3 separate regions of the Homo sapiens genome follow, and regions 2 and 3 are each linked to region 1. The links are contacts of gene promoters, found by promoter capture Hi-C in human tissues and cell types (Jung and others, 2019). All regions are on one chromosome and are shown on one strand. The core of a region is centred on a gene start or on the middle of the fragment in contact, and the rest is flanking DNA. Distances in the headings are between cores, read along the strand shown. Region 1 holds the start of PTBP1 (polypyrimidine tract binding protein 1). Region 2 holds the start of NDUFS7 (NADH:ubiquinone oxidoreductase core subunit S7). Region 3 holds the start of RPS15 (ribosomal protein S15).

Region 1 (3,762 bases), core at 383-2,882:
GAGAGGGTTCAAGGGCTGCTGTGTGCTTTCCAGTAAGTTGGAAACGCCTCGGAGAGGCTGAAACTGGCAAACTCACAGGCCTGGGCCAGAGCTTCCACCCGGGTAGGGGTGGGCCCCCAAGAGGGTGCCTCTCAGCAGAGTGGAGCCCGATCCACCGAGGAGAGCAGGAGGCGGCCGTGGAAACCGTCAATAAAAATTAACAGACCGACCAGAACACAGCCTCAGTTACTGATCAACCCGAGCCCCGCCCGACCCGACTCTCCCTCCTCGGGACACCCCGGGGGGAAGGTGGATAGAAAGCCGGACTGTCCGAGGCCCTCCCTTCAGCCCCGGCCAGGTCCTGACCCAACAGTGAGCTCCCCACGGCTTCTCCCGGCCACTGCAACTCCCGGCGAGGCCCTAAGTGACTCGGAGCGTCCGTCGGAAGGGCAGCCTCCGGGCCTCCTGCCTCACTCCGGGAGGCGAGTGCGCGGCCCCCGAGCCCGCGGTGCTGGGTCCGAGAGCGGGGAGCCCTCGTCTCGCCGTCTGCAGGACCCACCTGCCCGCACGCATGCTAAGGGGTCCAGACCCACTCTAGGGCTGCGCCTCTTCTGACACCACAGACTGCACGGACCACGTTTAACAGACTTTTAAAAGTGACTGAACCCAAGAAAAACTTCTCAGGAAAACGGAAAGAATGCGAAACATCTCCAGCCTCTCCCGCTTCCTATTCCCAGGGAGGGCCTCGCGCAGGAAGCGCTCGGCGGGACACGGCCTTTCTGGAGGGGGCTCCCACCTCTCCCAAGGGAAGCCCGCCCAGCAAAGCCGCCCGGAAAGGCTGCCCCGGCCCGAGAGCCGGGAAGGCCCCTCCCCATGACGGCGCCCGCGGGGGTCCCTGGAGAGGCCCCTCCGGCCCCGGGGCGGAGGACAGACCCTCGGGGCGGCCGCTTCTCTCCCGAGATCACCGAAACCCCTTGGCCGCGGCCCGGGGCGCACGGGGGGCAGGGGTAGGGCGGGGAGCGCAGAGACTCGGGCCCGCGGCGAGGCCCCGGCGCCAGCTTTCCCTCCCGGCGGCCGCCCCAGCCCCGCCTGCGCTTCCGGGGCTGCGCCGGGGGCAGAGTCCGGGCGGCGGGAAAGGCGCGCGCCCCCGATGGCGGCCGCGCACGCGCGCTGGGGCCAACGGGGACGCGCGACGGGCTACGCAGGCGCACGAGGGGAGCGGACGGGAGGCGGGAAGGGCCATCCGGGCGCGCGAGGGCCGGACGGGAAGCGGGAAGGGCCGCGCGCCGCCGAGGCGGGGCAAAGGCGAAGTGCGGGGACGCGCGCGGAGGGGGAGGGGCGCGGGAGGCCGCGTGCGCTAGGGACGGGGCGCGCGGGGGCCGGAAGCGGGCCGGACGGGGGATGGGGACGCGGCCAGACCCCCGGGAAGCCCCTGACCCGCCCCGCACCCGCGCCCGCCACGCGGAGAGGAAGGGGAGAGCCCGCCGCCCCCTCCCGCCCGAGAGGGGGCGAGATCGGCCCCGGGGAGGCCGGCGCGGCGGCGGGGGCAGGGCTGCGGCGCGGGGAGGGCGGTGGGGCGCGGGGCGACGTGCGACTCACCCGTCCATGGCACACAGAGCAGACCCGCGGGGGACGGAGTGGAGGCGCCGGAATAGCAGGAACCGACCCAACGGCTCCGAGTTATAGACTCACAAAATGGCGGAGACGCCCGCACACGTCCCCCGCGCGCGCTGCCCATTGGCTCCCGCTGCAGCCAGGGGGCGGGGAGAGCCCCGCGGGCCCCCGCCAGCACCTCCCACTGGCCAGAAGGCCGCCCGGGGGCGGGACCCAGAGAAATCGCAGGCGCCTATTGGGGGAGGCGGTTATTCCTCAAGGCCGAAGGCGGAAACGGCTTGTGTAGTCGGGGGAGGGGGAGAAAATGGGATCACGTGACGGCGTCTGAGCCAGTCAGCTGGCGCGTGGCTTTGCGGGAGACGCCATCTTGAGAGTGGGTACGTGGCGAGTCAGGCGGCGGGAAGCGTGCTTTGCCCAGGCTGCCGCCATCTTGCAAGTGGGCAGGACCCGCCCGCCTGGGCCGTGAGGGCAAAGGGAGTCGCATCGCCATCTTGGAGTCGGGCAGGAAACCCTCAGGGCTCCATGTTGGTTGTGGGCACATGGCCAAAAAGTCCGATTCAAACTGAGCGCTCACATCTGGGTGATCGCGCGGGGAGGGAAAGGCCGCGTCGCGTCCCGGACACGCCAGGGCTGTTTCCACAGTGGCCACAGATACTGCGGGCGCGCCATGATCCGGGGTCACCCCCGACCGTTCTTTGTTCGCCCCGGAACAGCGAATCCCGACTGCGGAGATAGGGAAACTGAGGTCCGGGCCCCGCACAGTCCGCGGCCGGCTGCCTACAGCTGGGAAAACTGAGGCCTGGACCTTGTACAGTCCGCGGCCGCCCGCCTACAGCTGGGGAAACTGAGGCCTGGACCTTATACAGTAGGCGGCCGCCCGCCTACAGCTGGGGAAACTGAGGCCTGGACCTTGTACAGTCCGCGGCCTCTCACCTACAGCTGGGGAAACTGAGGCCTGGACCTTGTACAGTCCGCGGCCGCCCGCCTACAGGTGGGGAAACTGAGGCCTGGACCTTGCAGTCCTTGGCCGCCCGCCTACAGCTGGGGAAACTGAGGCCTGGACCTTGTACAGTCCGCGGCCTCTCACCTACAGCTGGGGAAACTGAGGCCTGGACCTTGTACAGTGGGCGGCCGCCCGCTTACAGCTGGGGAAACTGAGGCCTGGACTTTGCACAGTCCGCGGCCAACCGCCTAAAGCTGGGGAAGCTGAGGTCCGGGCCACACACAGTCCACGGCCATCCGCCTACAGCTGGGGAAACTGAGGCCAAAGCCACACACAGTCCACGGCCATCTGCCTACAGCGGGGGAAACTGAGGCCCAGGCCACACACAGTCCACGGCCATCCGCCTACAGCTGGAGAAACTGAGGCCCGGGCTCCATACAATCCAAGGCCGCCCGCCTACAGGTGGGGAAACTGAGGCCCAAGCCACCCGCCTACAGCTGGGGAAACTGAGGCCCGAGCCCCCTACAGTCCCTGGCCCACTGACCTACAGCTGGGGAAACTGTGGCCTGGAGCTCGTACAGTTCGAGGCTGCCAGCCTACGGCTGGGGAAACTGAGGGCCAGGCCCAGCAGGGTCACCAGGAGGGTCCCTCCCGGGCCACCATCCCAGCAGCAGAAAACACCCTAAACTAATGTTCCCAGGAGCGCTGATCACATGAAGAGTCTGACAGAGCTGTGAGGGTGCCTGACGGGGAGGCCAGGTCAGCGGGTTGGGAGCCATCCCAGAGTGAGGGGATGACCCCGGCCCTCCACACTGGGACCCTCACGGGAGGCTGCGGTTGGAAACCGGAGCAGTTCCCGGCCCGGAGTAGACACTGCTCCCTAAATAGAATTAGCGGGATTTAGTCCATGCTGAAAAGGGGGTTTTTCATTAACACCAACCTACGGAGGGAGAAGACATGACAATTCTCGTTTCCCCAAATCCAGGCGAGCCTAGCGCCCTGCTTCTCTGGCGTGTTTTATTCCAGCAGTGCTGCGTTTCAGGCCGGGGCCTGGCGTGGGCCCAGGAGCCTTGGAGCCCCGCCGGGCGTCTGGTGCCAGAGGATTCCAGCCCGGATTAGGGGTGGCCGCCGAGCTCCATGGAGGCATCGCACGGCAAGGTCCTTTGGCCCGAACCACCCGGTCAACGGAGACTCACCAAGAGCCATCTGCAGCCAGGGTCACTCAT
Region 2 (3,929 bases), core at 1,030-3,529, 590 kb before region 1:
GGGTTTGATGCCCCTGAATGCAGCGATCCATGGGGCCTTCTCCTGCCTCTGAGCCCCTCCCTCACCCCAGCCTTAGCCTCATCCGGGGTTGCTGTTTCCCATGGCCCCGTCCAGGCCACAACTCTCTGAAGGACACAAGCCTGTGACCTACTTCTTGGCATGCCTGAGGCTGGGCACAGCAGACAGGCTAACTGCCCAGCCCCAGGCTCTGGTGGGAGCTGCCCCACTCCAGGTGTCAGTTTCCCAAGCTGAAAATGCAGGACTTTGGATGAGCTCCTAGCAGAGGAGATACTCTTCTGAGAACCTCTGAGGTGATGGGATTCTGTGCCTCTGGGTCAGGGTTTTTGTTGTTGTTGTTGTTGTTTTGAGACGGAGTTTCGCTCTTGTCACCCAGGCTGGAGTGCAACGGCACAATCTTGGCTCACTGCAACCTCCACCTCCCAGGTTCAAGCTATTCTCCTGCCTCAGCCTCCCGAGTAGCTGGGATTACAGGCGCCTGCTACCACGCTCAGCTAATTTTGCATTTTTTAGTAGAGACAGGGTTTCTCCATGTTGATCAGGCTGGTCTTGAACTCCCGAACTCAGGGGATCCGCCCACCTCGGCCTCCCAAAGTGCTGGGATTACAGGCCTGAGCCACCACGCCCAGCTGGTTTGTTTTTGTTTTTGTTTTTGAGACGGAGTTTCACTCTTGTTGCCCAGGATGGAGTGCAATGGTGCAATCTTAGCTCACTGCAACCTCCGCCTCCCGGGTTCAAGCGATTCTCTTGCCCCAGCCCCCCAGTAGCTGCGATTACAGGCATGCGCCACCACACCCAGCTGATTTTGTATTTTTAGTAGAGACGGGGTTTCTCCATGTTGGCCAGGCTGGTCTCGAACTCCGGACCTCAGGTGATCCGCCCACCTTGGCCTTCCAAAGTGCTGGGATTACAGGCGTGAGCCACCGCGCGTGGGCCAGGCATTCTTAACAAGGGGCCTGGTGAGGATTCAGAACTGTGAATTTGCTTGGAATAAAAAAATATATATGTCTTTGTTGTCACCAGCATCTTATGGAAAATTAGCCCTTCATTCAATTCTTAGCGTAGGCTGGGTGCCGTGGCTCCCAGCACTTTGGGAGGCTCAGGTGGGAGGATTGCTTGAACTCAGAAGTTCGAGACCAGCCTGGGCAACAGGGCAAGACCCCCATCTCTACTAAAAATACAAAAACTAGCCAGGCATGGTGGCGCACACCTGTGGTCCCAGCTACACAGGACACTGAAGTGCCAGAATCGCTTGAGCCTGGGAGGCACAGGTTGCAGTGATGAGCCAAGATGGCACCACTGCACTCCAGTCTGAGCGACAGAGGCAGACCCTGTCTTAATAAATAAATAAAAAATTCTTAGCATAGACAACAAAATACGGCAGTATTAGCAGGACCTGTAACTTTTCACCAAGCGGAATCACAGATGTTTCCTAGCTATGGTGCAGGGGCTGCAGACGTTTCCGTATCATCAAAGCCTCATTTCCACTCCTCACTCCTTCCAAATCACAGTCGCAATTAGACCTGCCGCTAGATCGCGTTCATAAGGGAAGCACTTAGATTACTAAGTCGCCAATCAGGTTTCAAGACAATCTTTTAATAACTGCCTCTCCGTGTAACTGATTTCCTTGCAATTCTATGGATTTTATTCCATGCATTTAATAACTTTATCTGAGCAGAGGTCCGCAGGCTTCAGCTGATCCCAAAAAAGTCCCTGGAGCAGGACAGGCTCTGCGAGAGGCCCTTACCTCCCAGGGGTGGGGAGGGAGGTGGAGGGTCCAGCAGGGTGGCGTGGATGTCCTGGGTCCTGTTCCTTCCCAGGCCCGGCCCTGTGACCTCGAAGACCCTCAATGGGCCTCAGTTTCCCAGCCTGTCAGGCAGGCCCCGCTCTCTCCAGGGCATCTCAAGAGCAGCCTCGCGGGCCGTGCCCTGGTCTCGGGGACGTGAATGGGGCCCCTCCAGCCTCCACCCCGAGCGCCTTCCTGAGGCTGGAGGCTTGCGTCATGACCTACCGGGCCTCGGTTTCCCCGACTGTACTCTGGACGCAATAACGGCGACCGTTCATCGCAAGCCGGGCGGGGAGCCCGAGGAGCGGCCGGCTCGGAGAAGCCCGGAGAGGACCGCGGCCACGACGCCGGCACCGACCCCCGACGCCACCACGACACCCGAGGCTCCCACGGCCCCAGACCCGCGCGGCCCCACACCCGCCGCCGGTGCCGCGCTCACCTGACAGCACCGCCATCTTGGCCTCGGCCTTCAGACAACCTCTGAGGTCCGTTCTCCTTAGCGCTCCGGGTTCCCGGGGCCGCCGCCCAAAGCGGCTCGGAGCGCATGCGGAAACCGGAACCTGGAGCCGGGAGGTTCCGCTGCGCTTTCGGCCTCCGTGGTCGTGTTGCGCCGTGCACCCCCAGATCACCCGAGGCGGAAAGGTCATCGGAGTGCGCACGTGGGGGCCGCGGGTCTGCGGCGGACCGACAAAAACAGAGGCGACACTCATTTTCTTGTTATTCCAGGAGGGCAAAAGTCACCACGCGTCCCTGGGTGGGCTCGAACCACCAACCTTTCGGTTAACAGCCGAACGCGCTAACCGATTGCGCCACAGAGACGACACTGCGCTCCGGCGCCCTGGGAGACCTTACAAAGGATGTGGGGCCTGCTGACGCGAAACGACTGCGCCTGCGCAGGGAAGGCGCAGCGCGGGACGGAGTCCCGGCGAGAGCGACTCTGCCGCCCAGCCGAAATAGCTCAGTTGGGAGAGCGTTAGACTGAAGATCTAAAGGTCCCTGGTTCGATCCCGGGTTTCGGCAGAAGTTTTAGCGCCTCTTGCGATCACTGATGTCTTTCGTTCAGGATTGGTCCAGCTGCCTCGCAGCTATCCCGGACCCCTTACCGCAACATCACCGCATTCTGCAGAGGAGTCGCCGCGATGTGGACTCATCCCAAAGTAAGGGGGCTCAGACCTCACAACCCCAAAGCCTCCTCTTCCCACCCCTAAGAGGTCATAATTTCAGCTCAAACTTCCCCCTTCCCTGACACACCCTCGATTTTCCATCTTGCTTAAATTGATAAGTTTACAACCAGTACTAATGATATAAAAACTAACACTAAACACCCAAACTAGCAAAACAGAGTTTGCAGAACGCTTTCTGCATGCATATCATTTAATTTTCACAATTCCACTGGAGGTTTTGTCTGCCTGTTTTATGATTACAAAAACAGAGGCAAAGGCCGGTGCGGTGGTTCACGCCTGTAATCCCAGCACTTTGGGAGGCTGAGGCAGGCAAATCACCTGAGGTCAGGAGTTCAAAACCAACCTGGCCAATATGGTGAAACCCTGTATCTAAATCCCAGCTACTCGGGAGGCTGAGGCAAGAGAATCACTTGAATCCGGGAAGCGGAGGTTGCAATGAGCTGAGATCGTGCCACCGCACTCCAGCCTGGGCGACAGAGTGAGACTCCATCTCAAAAAAAAAAAAAAAAGAAAAAAGAAAAAGAAAAAGTAAAGAAAACAGAGGCTCAAATTAGGTGAACACAGGTGACTAGCAAGACTGGGGGCCCCTTGAGGACCACAACAAGTGTTTACTGAATTCGTGCCATGGGCTGGGGACCCACTGCTGAGCAAAGCCAGGCCTGGTCTCTGTTCTTGGGCAGCTCAAAAGGATTGGAGGGGCCCAGCATGGTGGCTCACACCTGCAATCCCAGCACTTTAGGAAGCCGAGGCAGGAGGATCACTTGAAGCCAGGAGCTTGAGACCAGTCTGGGCAACATAGCAAGACCCCATCTCTACAATACATAATAATAATAAAGACTTGGGGGAAAAGCTGACAAGAACCTAAGAGGCTGGCAGGTGCACAAAACCCTCTTCCTTCTCTAGTTCTCATAGCTGCCCGTGCTGTAGGGTTTTGGTTTTAT
Region 3 (4,153 bases), core at 1-2,500, 640 kb before region 1:
AGGCGGGAGGGTCGCTTGAGCCCAGGAGTTCAAGACCAACCTGGACGACACAGAGAAACGCTGTTTCCACAAATAATCAAAAATCAAGGTCGGGCGCGGTGTTCACGCCTGTAATCCCAGCACTTTGGGAGGCCGAGGCAGGTGGATCACCTGAGGTCAGGAGTTTGAGACCAGCCTGGGCAACACTGAAACTCGTCTCTACTAAAAATACAAAAATTAGCCGGACGTGGTGGGGGGGCCCTCTAATCCCAGCTACTCGAGAGGCTGAGGCAAGAGAATCGCTTGAACCCGGGAGTGGGAGGCTGCAGTGAGCTGGGACGGAGCCATTGCACTCCAGCCTGGGCGACAGGATGAGACTCCGCCTCAAAATAATCAAAAATTAAAAAATAAAAGCGCAAGCCAGATGCCCACCACCACCCTGCCTGGAAAGGACCCAGCGACCTCCACCGCCCTTAAAATCTAAGGAGTCTAACGCAGCCCCTTATTCTAAGTCACGTGGGCTACAGACAGGGGCTACACCTTCCAACTAAGCCGCGGAAAAGTGAACAACGGGGGGCAGGTTGCAAATAAGCAAAAACCTCAACGTCTCTGGACAGTTTTCTGGGCGCAAGACCACACTCAGTTCCAAACCCGCGCGGAGACCGTGCCCGCCCACCGCCGCAGAGGCGCTTGGACCCCCGCCCCGCCGCCCTCACCCGGACAAGCCCCACCGCTGGCCCAGCCCCTGCCCGCGACCCCCGCGGCCGCCCTTACTAGGACATGTCCAGCAGCTGGTCGAGGTCCACGCCGCGGTAGGTGAACTTGCGGAAGGTCCGCTTCTTCTTCTGCTCTACTTCTGCCTGTGCGGGCGCGGATCGGGCGTCAGCGGGATCCCGACACCCATCTCCCGGGGCCACCGGGCCCGAGGACACCGCGGAAGACGCGCGGCGCCGCCGGGGACAGAAGCCCGACAGGGACACACCGCTTCGACCCGTCCCCGGGGATCACTCGCGGCTCCGGGTTACGAGGACCCGGACATGAAGGCCCGGACAGGCCTTCCCAGCCCCGCGTCGTCCCGACACCCACCAAGTCCGCCCCTCGCCCCAACATCCAGCCGCCTGCAGGGTCGGGAGCAAGCCGCCGTAGCCGCGGGGACGAACTGCGGCCCCCGCGAGACGGTCAGAGGTTGGATGGAGCCGGATAGGCCCGGCAGAGACGCGCCAAATCGCAACACTCACCATCTTGCCGGATCCTCAGAAGAGATCGCTTTGGTCCGCGCCTGCGCAGTTATCGCGAGACTGCCGGCATGTCCCGCCCCCTCGGCCGTGCGCGCACACGCGCTTCCGCTTTCCCGGCGGCGAACACGCGCCCTCTGCCGTCTGGAGGGCAAAACACAGGCTGCAGGGATTAGAGCAGCCGCCGCCTGAGGTCTGCAGAGCCGCTTCCTCCACGGAGTGGGACTTTGGACAAGTCGCCGCCCCTGTCTGAGCCTCGGGTTCGTGCTCCGTCATCTACACGATGGCACCCACATCAACAAGTATTTATGGAGCGCCTACCGTTTGCTCGTAGGTGCGGTTTGGCGGTTCAGGTCCCACTGTGGGAGGAACACGAGAATTCATTACAGATACTGGAGCAGGGACAGGGCCTCGCTGAAAAGAACCATTCCGGCTTTAACAGATAAAATTTTGTATATAAAGTTAGTAAGGACAACACAGTGAGACTGCCTCTCTACAAAAAAATACAAAAATTTGTGTACACACGGACATAAAAGAATAAAAAGTACAAAAAATTCCCAGCTACTCGGGAGGCTGAGCCTTCAGCCCAGGAGGTCAAGGCTGCAGTGAGCCGTGATCGCGCCAACGGCACTCCAGCCTGGGCGACAGAGCAAGACCCTGCCTCAAAAATAAAGTTAGGAATATCACTGGGTTTGTTAAGATATGTAAATGTAATGTGAATAATGATAGCTCAAAGAGAAGGAGTAACTAGAACTATGTAGGAGTGACTTTTTTTTTTTTTTGAGACAGAGTTTCACTCTTGTTGCCCTGGCTGGAGTGCAGTGGTGTGATCTCGGCTCACTGCAACCTCTGCCTCCTGGGTTCAAGCGATTCTCCTGCCTCAGCCTCCCAAGTAGCTGGGATTACAGGCACCTGTTACCGTGCCCGGCTAATTTTGTATTTTTAGTAAAGACACGGTTTCTCCATGTTGGCCAGGCCATGTTGGTCTCGAACTCCTGACCTCAGGTGATCCACCCGCTTTGGCCTCCCAAAGTGCTGGGATTACAGGCGTGAGCCACCGCGCCTGGCCTAGGAGTGATGTTTCTGTATCTTACTGGAATTAAGTATAAAGTTGAAGGTGACTATTAACTATGGATGTGGCACCTGGCTGGGCGTGGTGGCTTATGCTTGTAATTCCAGCACTTTGGGAGGCCGAGGCGGGCGGATCACCTGAGGTCAAGAGTTCAAGACCAAGCTGACCAACCCTAACTCTACTAAAAATACAAAAAATTAGCCAGGCGTGGTGGTGGGTGCCTGTAATCCCAGCTCCTTGGGAGGCTGAGGCAGGAGAACCGCTTGAACCCGGGAGGCGGAGGTTGCAGTGAGCTGAGATCGCACCACTGCACTCCAGCCTGGGCGACAGAGACTCCTTCTCAAAAAAAAAAAAAAAAAAAAAAAAGAAAAAGAAAAAAAAAAAGCACAAAACCTCTGGGAACCCGAGCTTAGCTGTGGCACTGTCCAGGGAGCTGAGCTCTCCCCAGCCGTCCCCACAGTCCCAAGGGAAGCCAATTACACTGTACTCAGGGAGGGCTGAGTCTCCGTCCCGAGGAGCACAGGACCTATGTGTCGGGCCCGTCCATGTTACCCATTTTCCTGCAGCAGAGTGTCCTGGCTGGAAAGCTGATTTTGTGAGTGCTGCTCTTTGGCTGGGGGAGCTAATGTAACGGGAGGGGCTGACACTCAACACCATGATGACCTGTGGTGTGGATAGACAGCCGCCCCCGCCTGGCCCTCCTGGGAGCTGGGGCAGCAGCTCCTGAGGACATGGGAGAAGGCTCTGACGGCAGGGAATGGAGCTGGCTTCCTGGGCTGAGGCGTTGAGGGGTACTGTCTCAGTGAGGAAACTGCACTGCACAGGGATGTTGGGGGTACCCCTTCTCTTGGTTCTCTCCAAACTAAGTCAAACCTTCCCTGTCCCCAAAATATGAACTGGGGCGGGGGGGGGTGGTTCTGGCTGTCGCCTGAACAGTCTCACGCCTGGCACGCTGTAGGCTTCCAGTTTGGGACTTCATGGTCCTTTTTTTTTCTTGTTTTGTTTTTTGAGACGGAGTTTCGCTCTTGTTGCCCAGGCTGGAGTGCAATGGCGCAATCTCGGCTCACTGCAAGCTCCGCCTCCCAGGTTCAAGCGATTCTTCTGCCTCAGCCTCCCAAGTAGCTGGGATTACAGGCATGCACCACCACACCCGGTTAATTTTTGTATTTTTAGTAGAGACGGGGTTTCTCCATGTTGGTCAGGCTGGTCTCGAACTCCCGACCTCAGGTGATCCGCCCGCCTCGGCCTCCCAAAGTGCTGGGATTACAGTCGTGAGCCACCGCGCCCGGCCCTTTTTAAGTCTCGCCTTCCCTGCCACAGTGACAGAGTATCCCTTTCCAAAGATGCCCCTGTCCTAATCCCCAGAACCTGGGGATATGTCACCTTCCATGGCAAAAGATATGATTAAAGGTCTTGAGATGGGAAAAGCCTGGAGCCCACATTCCCCGAGAAAACTGGTGGTGGCCACATCCTCAAAGTCACAGCATCCCAAGACCCACTGAGGGATGGGCCCAGCTCGCCACTCAGCCTCTGCCCTGAAGCCCTCGGGGTTGCTGAGACCACCAAGAGCCAAGGGGAGGGCGAGGGCGCCTCCGTCGCGTTTCAGACCTTTCCTAGGCACTGGAAGGGTAGGCACAGGCCAAGACCAAGGAGGGAAAAAACGGACACAAAGTGGTTTCTAATCCAAACGCACTTCTCTTTATTCAAACCAGGGTCAAACTGGTCAATGGGAAACGCCCTGAAGCCACGTGCCTGGGGAGAAAGGCTTCCTACTCGGTTCGGTTCAGCGCTGCGTGGGATCCACGCGGCTGGCTGTGCGCAACCCCCACAGTTCACCTCAGACACTACCAAGCAGGTCAGTCGACAA

What was found. Contacts are between HindIII fragments. The study calls those that stand out against the background at their distance.
Region 2: a contact is called between the fragment with the promoter of NDUFS7 here and the fragment with the promoter of PTBP1 in region 1, in 1 of the 25 tissues and cell types used here (dorsolateral prefrontal cortex).
Region 3: the fragment with the promoter of RPS15 here is called in contact with the fragment with the promoter of PTBP1 in region 1 in 2 of the 25 tissues and cell types used here (heart left ventricle and spleen).

Annotation. Positions count from the first base shown.
Region 1 is chr19:795,322-799,083 of GRCh38, reverse strand. It overlaps PTBP1 (polypyrimidine tract binding protein 1), which reads right to left and starts at 1,632. Exons shown (of 15, transcript NM_002819.5): 1 at 1,579-1,632. The coding sequence starts at 1,586. RefSeq lists enhancers at 1-793, 794-1,679, 1,886-2,225, 1,878-2,513 and silencers at 936-1,245, 1,316-1,495, 1,506-1,855, 1,619-1,973. The HindIII fragment of the contact is 37,831 bases long and covers 1-3,762 here.
Region 2 is chr19:1,382,257-1,386,185 of GRCh38, reverse strand. NDUFS7 (NADH:ubiquinone oxidoreductase core subunit S7) reads right to left here and starts at 2,279. Exons shown (of 8, transcript NM_024407.5): 1 at 2,244-2,279. The coding sequence starts at 2,259. It overlaps TRF-GAA1-6 (tRNA-Phe (anticodon GAA) 1-6), which reads left to right and starts at 2,752; the gene lies at 2,752-2,824. TRN-GTT2-6 (tRNA-Asn (anticodon GTT) 2-6) reads right to left here and starts at 2,623; the gene lies at 2,550-2,623. RefSeq lists silencers at 2,150-2,209, 2,460-2,599, 2,780-2,909. The HindIII fragment of the contact is 12,722 bases long and covers 1-3,929 here.
Region 3 is chr19:1,435,493-1,439,645 of GRCh38, reverse strand. RPS15 (ribosomal protein S15) reads right to left here and starts at 1,250. Exons shown (of 4, transcript NM_001018.5): 1 at 1,218-1,250; 2 at 754-839. The coding sequence starts at 1,220. It overlaps DAZAP1 (DAZ associated protein 1), which reads right to left. Exons shown (of 12, transcript NM_018959.4): 12 at 3,962-4,153. RefSeq lists enhancers at 1,007-1,226, 635-1,505. The HindIII fragment of the contact is 20,902 bases long and covers 1-4,153 here.